Regions from separate parts of the Homo sapiens genome. Here region 1 is linked to region 2. Evidence: promoter capture Hi-C in human tissues and cell types (Jung and others, 2019). All regions are on one chromosome and are shown on one strand. Each heading gives the region's core, a stretch centred on a gene start or on the middle of the fragment in contact. The rest is flanking DNA. Distances are from core to core; before and after follow the strand shown. Region 1 overlaps DYM (dymeclin). Region 2 holds the start of SMAD2 (SMAD family member 2).

Region 1 (2,700 bases), core at 12-2,511, 1.5 Mb before region 2:
CGTGCCACCACGCCCAGCTAAGTTTTGTATTTTTAGTAGAGACGGGGTTTCACCGTGTTGGCCAGGATGGTCTCAATCTCTTGACCTCATGATCTGCCCGCCTCAGCCTCCCAAAGTGTTGGGATTACAGGCGTGAGTCACCATGCCTGGCCTAGCCCCATATTTCTTGTAACTTTGTATCTGATGTCTAATATATTTATAAATACAGAAATGTGTGATTTTCTTTAGTAAGTTTATAGTTTTTTTATAGGTAGACAAAGCATGATGACTTTTGAACAAGTTTAAAGTTTTTATTTTTATTTTTTATAGGTTGTCTTTTGGAAATGCAGGTTTAAGGACAAATTATCTGCTTAAGCTAGAAGATGGGATCGAATAGCAGCAGAATCGGCGATCTTCCTAAAAATGAGTACTTGAAAAAGTTATCAGGCACGGAATCTATCTCTGAGAATGACCCGTTCTGGAATCAGCTTCTCTCATTTTCTTTCCCTGCACCAACTAGCAGGTAAGAGATTGCCTGGAGATTGAAAATTTGAATAGAGGGCCATATCAACTTGTGTGGTATGCTGATTAAAAAAAAATTTAGAAATGTTCTGTCTATCTATCTAGTCTATCTGTCATACATAGATCAGTAGAAAATCCAAAAGATTTGAAAGTAGAAAATAAGCTTTTCTTTTTACCCAACTCAGTAGCCACCTCCCTTCTCTAGAGGTTATCACTGGTAGCAGTTTATTTTGAATCGTTCTAGAGATAATATAGGTTACTTAAGCATATATCCCATATAGTTTCACAAAATTGTTTAAATACAAATGGTAGCATACTACACGTACTGTTCTGTCCCTTGCCTTTTTTTCCACAGTTAAGTAAAATATATCTTGTATATGTAGCACATTTGCAACTTCCTTATTCTTTTTAATGGCTGTGGAGTATCTGTAGAATATATTTAATTGGTTTTTCTGTTGATGAACATTTAGATTGTTTCCAGTCTTTGTTGTAACAGTTACTGCCGCATACATCATTTTTCATACACACAATATATCTTTAGTATAAATTCCTTGAAGTAGAATTGCTGGGTCAAAGTGTATGTGCATTTGCAATTTGGTAGCTATGCCAAATTGTGCACCATGGAAGTTGTAGCAATTTGCATACCTACCAGCAATGCATGAGAGGTGTGTTTCCCCATATCTTTGTCAGTTTGATGCATTTTAGACCTTTGACCTCTGCCAGTTTCAGAGGTGAAAAATAATATCTCATATTTAATTCTATTACAAAAACTGTCAGACAATAATAATGAAGAATGAATAGAATATTGAATTCCCATACACTCAATAACTAGATTTAAAAATTTTTTATTTACTTTTTAAGAGCTTTATTATGATAGGCAGAATAGTAGCCCCCCAAAGATGTCCATGTCCTTGTCTGCAGAATCTGAATATGTTACATTACATGGCAAAGGGGAATTAAAGTAGCAAAAGGCATTAAGGTTACTAATCAGCTGACCTTAAAACAGGGAGATTATCTTGGATTATCTGGGCAGGCCCAAAGTAATCACAAGGCTTCTTGAAAGTGGAAGAGGGAGGTAGAAGAGAAAGTCAGATGTGATGTGAGGAGGACTCAGCCTGCCCTTGCTGGCTTTGAAGATGGTAGGGAGGTCATGAGCAAGAAATATGAGCAGCTTCTAGAAGCTGGCAGAGGCAAGGATGCAGATTTCCCTCTAGAGCCTTTGGAAAGGGATGCAGCCTTATTGACATCCTGATCTTAGCTCATTGAGTGTCAGACTTCTGACCTACAGAACTGTAAGATAATAAATTTATGTTGTTCACACCACTAAATTTTGATAACTTTTGTAGTAGCAATAGAAAAATAATACACTTTTTGAGATATGTTTCATATATCATGTAATTCACCCATTTAAAGTGTATTATTCAGTGTTTTTATTCACAGAATTGTGTAACAATCACCAATTTTAGAACATTATCATCCCAGAAAGGAACCATCCCATGCCCTATCCCATGCCCATTAGCAGACACTCCCCCAAACTCTAGATTGCACTAGCAACCACTTATTTATTTATTTATTTTTTGAGAGGGAGTCTCAGTCTGCTAGAGTTCAGTGGCGCGATCTCTGCTCACTGCAAACTCTGCCTCCTGGATTCAAGCAATTCTTCGGCCTCAGCCTCCCGAGTAACTGGGCTTAACGGTTGCATGCCTTCATGCATGGCTAATTTTTGTATTTTTTGTGGAGATGAGATGTCACCATGTTGGCCAGGCTGGTCTCGAACCCCTGACCTCAAGTGATTCACCTTCCTCAGCCTCCCAAAGTGCTGGGATTACAGGCGTGAGACACTGCGTCCAGCCACTAATTTAATAACTACTACTAACTTTGCCTCTTCTAGACGTTTCATGTAAATGAAATTGTAACAATAGGTGGTCTTTTGTGACTGGCTTCTTTCTTTTTTTTTCTTCTACCTTTTTAGAGATGGGGTCTTGCTCTGTTACCCAGGCTGGTCTTGAACTCCTGGGCTCAAGAAATCCTCAGCACCCCAAAGTGCTGGGATTACAAGTGTGAGCCACTGCGCCCCGCCGTGACTGGCTTCTTTCACTGAATGTAATATTCATACATGTTGTAGCATGCACCAATACTTGCATTCCTTTTTTTCTTTTTTTTTTGAGACAAGGTCTCACTCTGTTGCCCAGGCTGGAT
Region 2 (2,700 bases), core at 37-2,536:
TTCTGGGCAGCCGTAAGTTTAGGGCCTTGCTGCCTCCTGTAGGGCAGATGTGCAAGTTGGGGCCTAATCGTCGCAACAGTGGAGAAAAGGGGAAGGGAAGATATCCCAGCCATTAAGGGACATCGTGACAGATGTTTCTTTTAGACTTCACAAAGACCCTTCGGGACATGGATTATTGATATCATTTTTACTGAAGACGGAACCAAAATTTAGGTTAAACACTTATACCTGGCATCCCCTACCCGGGCCCTAAGTGCTCTCCAAAGACCCCACCTCTGGGCTTATTTACATCGCGAACCCGCCCTCGTTCAGCAACACGAGGGCCCCGCCCGCTCATTTGCATAGGGCGCGCCCAGTCACGGGCCGGGTCCTCGGGCTTCTCCCGAACCCCTTTTCTCTCTCAGGCGCGTCCTCCGCGCTGCGCGGGGCCTCCCCGTGGGATGAGCACGTGTCCGCTGCCGGCCTCACGACGGACGGTGGACGAGGCGGCAGGCCCCTACAGGCCCCACCCACGACGCTGGCGAGGGATCGGGCGGTCACCGGGAATCGTCTTAATGCGCGGCAAGGCGCGGGCCTCTCCCTCTCCGCCCGTGAGCCCCGGTGGGAGCGCGCCGGCGCCCAACTCAAGCGAAACCGCGGGCGTCCCGCCCCGCCCGGCCGCGCCCCGCCTCGCCTCACGCTAGACTGGGGAGGCGGGACCAATCAGCGAGCGACGTCTCCCTTCCGATTCGAGGCCCCCGATGCGCGGCTCACACCCCGAGCTTCCCTCGTGCTGATTGGCTGCGGGCGCCGCCGGTCCGGCCGGGAGGCGGGGCGGGCCGTAGGCAAAGGGAGGTGGGGAGGCGGTGGCCGGCGACTCCCCGCGCCCCGCTCGCCCCCCGGCCCTTCCCGCGGTGCTCGGCCTCGTTCCTTTCCTCCTCCGCTCCCTCCGTCTTCCATACCCGCCCCGCGCGGCTTTCGGCCGGCGTGCCTCGCGCCCTAACGGGCGGCTGGAGGCGCCAATCAGCGGGCGGCAGGGTGCCAGCCCCGGGGCTGCGCCGGCGAATCGGCGGGGCCCGCGGCCCAGGGTGGCAGGCGGGTCTACCCGCGCGGCCGCGGCGGCGGAGAAGCAGCTCGCCAGCCAGCAGCCCGCCAGCCGCCGGGAGGTGGGTGCGTGGCGCCGCGGCGGCCGGCGGCCGAGGGCGGAGGGCGGAAGCGGAGGTGGGCTGGCGGGGGAGGGCGCGGCCGTGCGGGCGGCCGGTAGGGCTGCGGGCGCGCGCCTGAGGGGAGGAGGGGCAGCGCGGGCGCGCGCGTCCTCACCCCCTCCTTCCCCGCGGGCGGCGGCCAGGCTCCCTCCCCTCCCCTTCCCTCTCCTCCCCTCCCCTCCCCTCTCTTCCCCTACCCTCCCGCGCGCCCGGGCCGCCGGCCGGGCCCGGGCCTGGGGGCGGGGCGGGAAGACGGCGGCCGGGAGTGTTTTCAGTTCCGCCTCCAATCGCCCATTCCCCTCTTCCCCTCCCAGCCCCCTCCATCCCATCGGAAGAGGAAGGAACAAAAGGTCCCGGACCCCCCGGATCTGACGGGGCGGGACCTGGCGCCACCTTGCAGGTAAAGCCTGGGCGCCCGCGGGCCTCCAGCTAGGGAAGTGTTTGCGTGCGTCCGCGGCCGGGGCGATGGGCCGTGTCACATGGCCGCTGCGGGTGGGGGCTGGGGTGTGGTGAGTTCGGGGGCTGTGGGTGCGCCGGCCCGGGCGTGCGGGTTCGGGGCCGGAGAGCCGGGAAGGGACGGGGCTCGGTTGCACTGCGCTGCCGCCCAGGCTGACGGGGGCGGGGGCTGCCTGCGTCCCTTCCCCTCGCTGCTCTCACACTCCATAGTTTGTGGTTCTGATTTTTAAAGCCGAAGGGCCAGAGCTCTTGTTTCAGGAGTTGTGGGGAAGCCTTGTTAGGGACGCGTAATACTTTGCCTCCACTTTTTTTTTTTGGTCTCGTAACCTTTGTTAACAGTGGTAGTCTCGGGTTTTCCATGGCTTGTGTGTACTCACAAACACGCACACAGCTGATAACTCTGTGATCATCCTTCACTCACTTGTGAAAGTTGTTCTGCGGGTGGAGCCTATTAGTTTTTATCACACGCCTTTGGAAAGCCCTCGAAGTGATTTCTCGTATTTCAAACTTGGTTTTTAAAATTGCAACTTACTTTGTTCTCTTGGAGGGGGATATTGTCTTTGGGTCAGGTACTTTTGTCTTTTACTTATCCTTAAAATGTCCTTTTGATCCTAAACAGAAAAAGAATGCCTGGGTTGGTTTTGTTATTCCTTTCTCTTGACCCTTTAAAAGCAAAATACCACCAGTGTGTTGTCAACCATACCTTTAAAAAAGAAATTTCCAGGTAAAACGAATTTGCAAGCAGCATTTTCCATCAAAGTCATGTCTTGTTTGTTGCAATTTGGACTATCTTAAATTTGGGTTTGTGAAACTTTTAAAACGACATGTGTAAAATAATTGTTAATAAATAAATAACTTGGAATAATTACATCTTTTTAGAAATGGTCTTTGAAATGTGATTTAATTTCCAAAATTCTTTTTCTCTCTTCTGACTTCATATGAATTGAACCTGATAGTTTCGTATGAATGAATCGCTGATAGGATGTTTTCCTTGAGCCTAGTAATAAATTTGCTCTTATTATGCTGAAAATTTGCTATTCTACTTTAACACCCTTTAAAA

The links. Contacts are between HindIII fragments. The study calls those that stand out against the background at their distance.
Region 1: a fragment that was not itself captured here is called in contact with the fragment with the promoter of SMAD2 in region 2 in 1 of the 25 tissues and cell types used here (hippocampus).

The regions. Positions count from the first base shown.
Region 1 is chr18:49,428,057-49,430,756 of GRCh38, reverse strand. It overlaps DYM (dymeclin), which reads left to right. Exons shown (of 18, transcript NM_001353214.3): 2 at 310-502. The coding sequence starts at 363. Among named protein-coding and RNA genes, the nearest start is that of DYM, 31 kb to the left of the region's middle. The HindIII fragment of the contact is 7,598 bases long and covers 1-2,700 here.
Region 2 is chr18:47,929,245-47,931,944 of GRCh38, reverse strand. It overlaps SMAD2 (SMAD family member 2), which reads left to right and starts at 1,286. Exons shown (of 11, transcript NM_005901.6): 1 at 1,286-1,584. RefSeq lists silencers at 368-1,297, 1,328-1,857. The HindIII fragment of the contact is 9,095 bases long and covers 1-2,700 here.